Regions from separate parts of the Homo sapiens genome. Here region 2 is linked to region 1. Evidence: promoter capture Hi-C in human tissues and cell types (Jung and others, 2019). All regions are on one chromosome and are shown on one strand. The core of a region is centred on a gene start or on the middle of the fragment in contact, and the rest is flanking DNA. Distances in the headings are between cores, read along the strand shown.

Evidence for each region. The method cuts DNA at HindIII sites, captures the fragments that hold promoters and counts their contacts. A contact is called where the count stands out against the background at its distance.
Region 2: a contact is called between a fragment that was not itself captured here and the fragment with the promoter of PCDH7 in region 1, in 2 of the 25 tissues and cell types used here (H1 embryonic stem cells and mesendoderm cells).

What each region holds. Positions count from the first base shown.
Region 1 is chr4:30,717,382-30,722,511 of GRCh38, reverse strand. PCDH7 (protocadherin 7) reads right to left here and starts at 2,143. Exons shown (of 3, transcript NM_001173523.2): 1 at 1-2,143. The coding sequence starts at 1,089. LOC124900844 reads left to right here and starts at 3,391. Exons shown (of 1, transcript XM_047416545.1): 1 at 3,391-5,130. The coding sequence starts at 4,605. RefSeq lists an enhancer at 624-1,334. The HindIII fragment of the contact is 10,727 bases long and covers 1-5,130 here.
Region 2 is chr4:30,584,666-30,589,795 of GRCh38, reverse strand. No RefSeq gene overlaps it. Among named protein-coding and RNA genes, the nearest start is that of PCDH7, 130 kb to the left of the region's middle. The HindIII fragment of the contact is 5,151 bases long and covers 548-5,130 here.

The sequences.
Region 1 (5,130 bases), core at 894-3,393:
CGTCTCGTCAAGGCGCAGCAGCCGCCTCACCGACTCGGTGGCCGCCCCGAACACGTATTCGATCTGCCCGTTGACCCCCACGTCCAAGTCGGCTGCGCGCAGTTGCAGGATGGGGGTCCCCGGGGCGCTGTTCTCAGCCAAGTCGGCCTCGTACACGCTCTTCTCGAAGCGGGGGCTGTTGTCGTTCACGTCGGTGATGAGGACCCGTAGGATGGCCTGCGAGGAGCGAGGCGGGTCGCCGCCGTCGCGCACTCGCAGGGTCAGCTCGTAGGAGTCGCGCTGCTCGCGGTCCAGCGCCCCCTTCACGATCAGCTGCGGCTGCTTCTCGCCGTCCGGGGTGTCCGCCACCTGCAGCTCGAACACGCTGCTGCGGCCGCCGGGGTTGGTGCCGCCGCCGCCCTCTGATGCGTCCAGCCGCCGCTTGGAGCCTCCCGAGCCGCCGCCGCTCGCGCCGTTCCCGCCGCCCCCGGGGTAGGGGGCGCTGTCGGCCGCCCCGGCGCGCCGGCTCTCGCCGCCGCTGCCGCCGCCTCCGGGCTCCTGGAGCAGCTCGTAGCGCTCGATGCCGTTGCGGCCGAAGTCGCGGTCGGTGGCTGTGGGCAGCAGGTAAAGTGTGCCCACCGGCCGATTCTCCTCCACCGTGAGCGTGAGCACGGGCGACGGGAAGGTGGGCGTGTTGTCGTTGATGTCAAGCACGATGACCTGACCCTCAAACAGGTCCACCCAGCTCTGCGAGGGCCCGATCACCGACACCTCGAAGTCCAGGAAGCACTCGTTCTCGTCGAAGATCATCTGACACTGGGGCAGCTTCTCGCGGTCGATGCGCCGCTCGCTCGTGCTCAGCTCGCCAGTGAGGTTGTCGATCTTCAGGTACTCGGAACCGGACTCCAGGCTGAAAGTCACCTCACCCGATCCGGTCACGATGCCCAGGTCTGAAGCCACGTTGCCGATGCGGACGTCGGCGGGGCCCTCCTCGGCCAGCCGGTACCGGAGGAGCTGCTTGGCGGCCGCCAGGCTGAGCGAGAGCGGCAGGAGGAGGCAGCAGCCCAAGCACCAGCCGCGCGCCCATCCCGCGGTCCGCATCCTCAGCATCTTCTCCTGCTGCTGCTGCTACTGCTCCTTCTAACCACAGCCCCCTCGGCGCCCCCCTCCTCCGGGGCCGGCCGCCTGCCCTCCCCCGAGTCCTCTCCCCTCTCCCGGAAAGGAAGGAGCGAGAGGGAGGGGAGGGAGGGGGCAAAAGCGGCGTGGAGAGTTGGCCGGGAATGGGGGTGGGAGGGCAGCGATAGATGCTTCTTTTTTTCCTCCTGCTTCTTCCGAAAGTTATTGTTTCATAATTCATGCAATGGGTGCTAATCGCCCGCTCGCCTGCCGCCGTTCAGTCGCAGTACTCACAGTTCACGGGACACTGCGCGCCGCGGGTTCGGCGCTCCCCCAACCCAGAGTCATCCCCTCAGCGGGCGGAGAATCCCCGGCTCTAGTCCCCGCTCTGTCGGAAGGGGCCAGAACCGCTCCGGCAGACGGGCAGTGGGGCTGGGAAGAGGTGGGGAATGAGCCTGCAGCCTCCCCCGCCTGCCAGCCCGCTGGTCTTTGCTGCTACTCGAGTTGAGTCCAATTCACGTTCCAGGCACTCACTCCAAACCCAGGCTCTGCTCCGGCTCCGGCCACCCAGACAAACGTGAGTCGCTTCCTGCACCAGGCGCTGGGGCCAGCAACAAGCCAGTCTCAACTCCGACTCTGCTCATGCAGCGGGGGAGCCAGTCAACAGATCGAGAATGAAAAATCCCCCGGCACGTCGCTTCGGGCACGGTGCAGGGGAGACTACTCGCGTCACAGAGCGGTCAGTGTCAGGGTCCCCCCGGCGCGCCAAAGAGAAGCCCGAGCCATCTTCAGAGACGCCCAGAGTCAGTCCCTTCTCACCCCGGAGAGCGCGGGTTTCTCTTTTTTCTTAACAACTCTGCGCAAGGTCATTAGTCACGAAGCAGCCGCCTGAAACCGCAGCAGCCTTTCGCCCACGGGGGCGAAGGCTGAGCAGTGCGCACCGTGCGGTGCCCAAGTTTGGGTTCGCAGCCGCAGAGTCCGTGCCTTTTCTCACCTGCATTCGGCCCGCATGTCGGAGCAGTGGGATCTGCAGCGCTGTGCGCGATTCAGGGAGGAGATTGCAGCCTCTCTCTCCCCGCTCTCTCTCGATCCCTCCCCTCCCTCCCTCCCTTTCTCTCTCCTCCCTCCTCTCTCTCCTCCCTCCTCTCCTTTCCCCTTTCCCCCTCTCCCACTCGCTCTCTTGCACGCTCTCTCTCCTTCCCAATGCAGGGAACTCAAGCTGAACTTGATCCCTTTGCAGTTCAAAGGTGAGCAAACCAGGCTCGGAGCACAGGCGACGTTAGCCGGCGAAAGCGCACGGCCGGGCGTCCCCAACGGCAATTAACAAAGATGCCCAATTCTGTCTGGATTTCCGAAGAAAAGCCAAAGGCTTTCGGGCGGGGGTGGAGGGGGAGGTGGAGTCAGAGACAGCTGCCAAGTAGCTTAAAAAAAAAAATCCAGTTTGCCAAGGGGAGAAAAAGTGTCAGTCGGTTGTGGCCTCGGAAGTGCCCTGGCACGGCTGGTGAATTCCGCAGTTGTCTCGTCCCTTTTCGCGTCTGGGAGAGTCTGGTGCGGGCGCTCCCGCCGCCCCTCGGGCTGCAGCGGCTCGGAGACACTGAACCGCTAGTGGGAATCTCCCGTTCGCTACCCGCGAGCAGGAAACCCGCAAGTTGCCCAAAGTGGTGGTTGCTGCTGGGTGCTCGCTCGCTCACGGATCAGGCTTGTCCCTGACGCTGCTGCTGCAGCGGCGGCGGCAGTAGCAGCCGAGCCGCCGAAACTACACACTAGGAGAGAGCGAGGGAGGAGGGCCCGGGATAAGGAGGCGGGAGGGAGCGTCAGCCAGCCGCCGCGCTCGGGAAAGCCCAGCCTCAGCTCCAGGGGCCGCTCAAAGTGTGCCCAATCCCAGCCAGTCCTCTTTAAGCCAAAGCCCAGTCCCCCTCCCTAGCGAGTACCGCCGTCTTCTCTGGGGGACTTGTTTTCCCTCCCTCGGGCTGGTAAATTTCCTCCTCCCTTGACTAATGCCCAGTTCACGCGTGAGAGCTTTCGGAGCTGGTGTCAGGATAGGTTTCTCCTTCTCCCTCCCTCTCAGACGACGTCCTCCTCCCCCCGGAAAGTGTCTCCGGTTCGCGATTTAGGATCTTGGTTAGGACATGGTTATCGGGGTCCTGGGGAACCTACGAGCGCCCAGAAAGCCACTCTGTTCTGAAAAACCATGACGGGCTGCAGTAGTGAAGAGAGAACATCAAACTCCAGAGAGCTGGAGAAAGATCCTTTTTTGGGAGCTCAGACTTTGGATGGTTGCGGGGGGCAGGGGCGGCGGTGGGTGGAGGGTGAAGGATGTCTGTCTTTGTTTAAATGCTTGACATTCCTGTCGTCGTGCTTGCTTGCGGGGGTAGACCGTGTGTGCGCGCCTGGGGAATAAACACATGTTGGAAACCTCGATATTATTTTCTGAGCAGAAACCTGCAGCCTTTAGTAACTGGCAAAGTGTAGCGTCACCTATCTGGATAAAAGGGAAATAAACTTTAATGGCAACTTTGTGTACCAAAGTGTCCCCAGCTTTCCCATCTCTCCTTTTGACTTTGTGTCCCTTGACTGTCCCTATTTCCTGAAGCAAGGCTTCTCCAATTTTCATTCACGACCACCGCAGCCGGCCTCATCAGATCTCAGGTCTGGTTGTGTTTTTGAACTGAGCCATTTACTCATTTATTTCAGTGGCTGTAAACGAAGAGGCCCGGCTAGGATTAAGACGACTGAGACGGACTGTAGGTATTTGGGGAGAATTTTTACCATCTCGAAAGAGAGAAAGGGCCGCTGCTGGGATTTGCTTAGTCTTCAGCTCGCCTGACGTATCCATACACATTTAAGGGCCTCCCCTCAAAGAAAAATTTAAAGCCGAAAAAATAAAATCTGTCCAGTGTGGGTATTCTTTACGAGACCTGGGTGACGAGGCAGAATGATTTAAACAAGACAAACACCAATAAAGTCAACGAGCAGATGTAGCGCGCGGTTGTTTGGGCGGGCGCAGGAACAGGAATGAGGAGGGAGAGGCGGCAGAGATTTCCAAGCTCTCCCTACAGGGGATCGTAGATGCCCGTTGGATGGAAGTGTGTCTAAGTGTGTGTCAGGGAGCTGGCGAGTATTTTCCAGTCTGTGAAAGTAGCATCACCCCAGGGGTGGTGGCTCCTCCTCCGAGGCCAGGGCAGGGAACCCGGCCTTCCCGCTAACCCTCCCGCTGCTGGCACCCGAACCTCTCAGCTCTGTATCTGCAGCATCAGCGAGAAAAGCCCCGCGCGCAGGCTCAGTGCGCACCGCCGCAGTCTCGAGCCGGGGGCGGGGGTGGGCTCCGCAGCGCCTTCGCGGCCGGCTAAGTGGCAGTAAAGCCAAATCCCTCTTACATTTGGCAAGAACCCGGGTTTATCGGAACGCCTGCCTCTCTCCAAACCTCCGACCCTGGTTCCCCTTTTTCCCAGGTTGGAGGCAAATGGGAGAAGCCGTCTCCACTCCGCGGCCTTGCGCCGTGCATTCCGATGCGCGGCAATATGGTGCAGTGCACTCACTCCCCTCATCGCCTTACTAAGATTTTGCAAACTTCAGGCAGCCGCTTGGGCAGAAACGTTGTGCACTCCCTCTTCCCTCTCCAGACCATAAACTTGAATAAGCCTCTCCGCATCTTCAAAGCATTTGCTCGCGGCTCTGGCGCGCACTCTCCAGGCGCACACTTGAGCGGGGCGCGAAGGAGTGGGCGGCTTTTCCTCAGCGCGCTGCACATTTCTTCCCGGATGACTAGGGAGTTGCAGCGCGTCCTTCACAGTGGAGTGGTTTCCTCTTTGCGAGCGGGAGGAAGTCTCCAGCCCGCCCTCCTCACTCTCATTCCTACCAACTTCGCGGCGGAGCCAAGCCAGCGTGGGAAATGGGTCCGACGTGTGCTGCATGGAGAACAGCGAGGACAGACTGCGGGGGCCAAGAAGCCTGCTGGCTTTGCTCCCACCCCCATCAGTCCCAGGCTCCGACCTTTCTGCCAGAGCAGCAAAGAAGTGGCGGCGGCTTTGCCCT
Region 2 (5,130 bases), core at 1,874-4,373, 130 kb after region 1:
TGGAGTGCAGTGGCACGATCTCAGCTCACTGCAACCTTCACCTCCCAAGTTCAAGCAGTTCTCCCTGCCTCAGCCTCCTGAGTAGCTGGGATTACAGGCGCCCGCCATCACACCTGGCTAATTTTTATATTTTAGTAGAGATGAGGTTTTGCCATGTTAGTCAGGCTGGTCTCGAACACCTGACCTCAGGTGATCTGCCCTCCTCGGCCTCCCCAAGGGCTGGGAGTACAGGTGTGAGCTGCCGCGCCCAGCTATATTTATATTTTTATAATCTTTACAATTACATTAAAAATGAAATCTATATATTTTGATCAACATTTAGAAACAATGTTTTTAGTACCACATATTGGAAACTTTAAAAAATATTTTTCAAAATGATTTTGATGTAGTTTTTAGTAGGAGTTATGCATTAAGAATGTGACTTTTCCTTTCCTGTAAACTCCAGAATTTATCCTCCAAATTGTCGGGTATATACTGCTTTTTAATAAAGCTCTTGTCATTCTGTAGTGGTGCATTACTAATTAGACAATTATTTCCATACTGGTAAAGCATCACTGGAAGTATTTATTATAGCTCTTGGACTGTTAAAGAGTTACCCAGTTATAAATTGCTAACATTACATTAGGTATCATTTGCCACACAGTTCAAAATTGCTTGTCTTTTCTCAAAGCAAGTGTTGCATAATTACAGTAAGTGACTGCAATTACGAACCCATAACTTTCAAGAATGACATTTATTGACTTAATTGAAGTAAATTAGGAATGTAACTTTTATCTACAAACACAAAGTTAATAAATATTGCCCTTTATAGAAGACCTTAATTGTATAAATTTTGTAATCTGTACATCATGTATTTGTTTCTATATTCTTGTATTCAACAAATATTTTTAGAGTACCTAGTATATGTAAAGAAATGTAGACATGAATATCAATAGGATCAGCAATATAATGTAATGAGATTTAATGAATTCATATTCAATGTGACCTGGGAATTTGGCTGCTTATATGCCATCTTAGCCAGAATTAGTAGAAGCATGGTGACAAAATTGAGAGAGGCAATATTTCCATTCCACGGTGATCCATGTTGGTCAGATAACAGATAGGATTATACTTTTTAAAAAAAATACAGGGCCTCACTCTGTCACCCAGGCTGGAGTGTAGGGGCCTATTCGTGGCTCACTGCAGCCTCCACCTCTTGGGTTCAAGAGATGCCTCCACCTCAGCCTTCCAAGTTGCTGGGACTACTACCCACCTATCTGTATGCCAACATGCCCAGCTAATTTTTGTAGTTTTTGTAGAGACAGGGGTTCACCATGTTGCCCAGGCTAGTCTCAACTCTTGCGCTCCAGCTTTCCTCCTGCTTCGGCCTCCCAAAGTGCTGGGATTACAGGAGTGAGTCACTATGCACTGCAATGCTTCATTTTTAATACCACATTTCAGGAGGACATTGCCAGACAAAATGATATTAGAAGAAAATATTCAGGATAATGGGACTGGAAATCTTCATATAAGGAAGAGTTGAAGAAATTGGGGCTGGTTAGCACTAGCTAAAAATAAAAATAAAAATAGAAGAAGATGGAGGGGTTAAAAGAAAGTGTAATAAGTGCCAAGGCTCTAATTTTCATGATAATTCATACATCGTATAATGTTGCATCAATAATTAATAAAAACTTTTTAAGGAGAAAGAGACTGAAACATAAGAGTTAGAGAAGACATTAAAGACTATAGAGAATATAGGTAACATAATTAATGAATAAATCCAATAGACATAAATTAAAATCATATCCTGAAATAAAGAGCATTTTCTTTGTTAGAGTGAATAGAAATTTTAAAAACTTCAACAGAATAGAAACTTCGAGATTGAAACTAAAAATTACTTGAAATATGAAAAACTAGAGCCTCAGAAATCTGATTATTAAAAACACAAACTGCCCTTAATGACCCTTTTTTTCAAAGAATACAATCAATCCTAAATTGCCATATATTTTATAAGTAATAATGATTAAACCCTTCAAAGCTAAACCTTTGGAAGCTAACTAAAGCAACACTCATAGGGATATTTATAGCTTAAATATTTACATTACTGAATGGAAAATAATTAAGCTAATTGAATTATCTACTTATCTGAAATGGTTAGAAAAATAATCAACCAAGGGGCCAAGATGGCCAAATAGAAGCGGCTCCCAGTGAGACCAATGAAGAAGGCGGGTGATTTCTGCATTTCCAACTAACATTCTCATGGGACTGGCTAGGTGGTGGCTACGACCCACGGAGAGTGAACAGAAGCAAGGTGAGGCATCACTTCACCCGGGAAGTGCTTGGAGCAGGAAGACTTCCCTTCCCCAGGCAAGGGAAACAGTGAGGGATTGTGCAACCTGCCAGGGGTGCTACGCTTTTCCCGTGGATTTCTGCAGTTGGTGGCCTATGCCACCAGGGCCCTGGGTCTTAAGCACAAAACTGGGTGGCTTTTCAGGCAGACACTGAGATGCAGGAGTTTTTACATAATCCAGCAGTGCCCGAAACTCCAGTGAGACAGGAGAACCATGCACTCCTATGGAAAGGGGGCTGAAACCAGGGAGCCAAGTGGTCTGGCTCAGCGGGTTCCACTCCCACGGAGCCCAGCAAGCTAAGAACCTCTGGCTTGAAATCCCCATTGCTAGAACAGCAGTCTGGAGTCCACCTGGGACGGCCGAGTTCCACTGGCGGTAGGAGGGCCGTGGAGACCTCCATTTCTGTGGGTTTAGTAGGTGGTTTTCCCTTGACAATGCTAAGAAGACTGGGAGATTTGGACTGGGTGGAAATCCCCATGGTGCAGCAAAGCAGCTGTGGCCAGACTGCTTCTCTAGATCCCTCCTCACGGGGCAGGGCGACCCTGCAGGAAGTCCACTGGCTCCAGTCAGGGGCTAACAGACAGAACTCTCATTTCCCTGGGACAGAGCACCGTGGTCCCAGGTTCAGCAGACTTAATTTTTCCCGCCTGTCAGCTCTGAAAAGATCAGCTGATCCTGACAAAAGGGATTTCCCCCAGAATAGCACACCAGCTCTGCTAAGGGACAGACTGCCTCCTCAAGAGGGTCCCTGACCCTGTGCCACCTGTCTGGGTGAGACCTCCCAACATGGGTCGGCAGACACCTCATACAGGACAGTTCCGTCTGGCATCAAGTTGGTGCCCTTCTGGGATGAAGCTTCCGGCGGAAGGATCAGACAGCAATCTTTGCTGTTCTGCAACCTCTACTGGTGATACCCAGGTGAACAGGGGCTGCAGTGGACCCCCAGCAAACTGCAGCAGACCTGCAGAAGAGGGGCCGGACTGATAGAGGAAAAACAAACAGGAAGCAACAACAACAACAGCAGCATCAACAAAAAAGACCCCACAAAAACCCCATCCAAAGTCACCAGCCTCAAAGGTAGATAAACTCACAAAGAGGAGGAAAAACGAATGCAAAAACGCTGAAAATACCAAAAACCAGAATGCCTCTTCTCTTCCAAATGGTTGCAACACATCTCCAGCAAGGGAACAGAATGGGGCTAAAGCTGAGATGGATGAACTGACAGAAGTAGGTTTTAGAAAGTGAATTTTAGAAAAATGAATTTCGCTGAGCTAAAGGATTATGTTCTAACTCAATGCAGAGAAGCCAAGAAGCAGGATAAAAGATTACAGGTGCTGTTAACTAGAATAACCAGTCTAGAGAGGAACATAAATGACCTGAGGGAGCTGAAAAACAGAGCATGAGAACTTTGTTATGCAAACACAAGTATCAATAGCCTAATCGACTAAGCAGAAGAGAGAATATCAGAGCTTGAAGACTATCTTGCTGAAATAAAACAGACAGACAAGATTAGAGAAAAAAGAATGAAAAGAAACAAAACCTCTAAGAATTATGGAACTATGTAAAAAGACTGAACCTATGACTGATTGGAGTAGCTGAAAGAGATGGGAGAAAGGAACCAAGTTGGAAAACACACTTCAGGATATCATCCAGGATAACTTCTTCAACTTAGCAAGACAAGCCAATATTCAAATTCAAGAAATCCAGAGAATCCCAATAAGACACTTCATAAAAAGATCTACCCCAAGACACATAAACATCTTATTCTCTAAGGTCGAAATGAGGGAAAAAATGTTAAGGGTAGCAAGAGAGAAAGGCCAGGTCACCTACAAAAGGAAGTCCATCAGACTAACGGCAGACATCTCTGTGGAAACCCTGCAATCTAGGAGATTGGGGGCCAATATTCAACATTCTTAAAGAAAAAGAAATTCCAACCCAGAATTTCATATCCAGCCAAACTAAGCTTCATAAGCAAAGGAGAAATAAAATCTTTTTCAGAGAAGCAAATGCTGAGGAATTTTGTGACCACCAGGCCTGCCTTGCAAGAGCTCCTGAAGGAAGCACTAAACATGGATAGGAAAACCTGTTACCAGCCACTGCAGAAACACAATGAAGTACACAGACCAATGACACTATGAAGCGATTACATTAACAAGTCTGCAAAATTTACCAGCCAGCATCATGATGACAGAATCAAATTCACACACAACAATATTAACCTTAAATGTAAATGGGCTAAATGCCACAATTAAAAGACACAGAATGGCAAGCTGCATACAAAGACAGGAACCATTTGTGTGCTGTACTCAAGAGACACATCTCATGTGCAAAGACGCACATGGACTCAAAATAAAAAGAAGGAGGAAAATTTACCAAGCAATTGGAAAGCAGAAAAAAGCAGAGGTTTCAATCTTAGTTTCTGACAAAATAGACTTTAAATTAGCAAAAGTCAAAAAAGACAGAGAAGGGCATTACATAATGTTGAATGGTTCAGTTTAATAAGAAGAGCTAACTATCCTAAATATATATGCACCCAATACAGTAGCACGCAGATTCATAAAACAAGTTTTTAGAGACCTACAAAGACATTTAGGCCTCCAAACAATAATAGTGGGAGACTTTAATACTCCCACTGTCTAATACTGTCTGTATTAGACAGATCATCAAGACAGAAAATACCACCAGAGAATATTATAAACACCTCTATGTCAATAAACTGGAAAATCTAGAAGAAATAGATAAATTCCTGGACACATACACCAGCCCAAGACTGAACTAGGAAGAAGTTGAATCCCTGAAG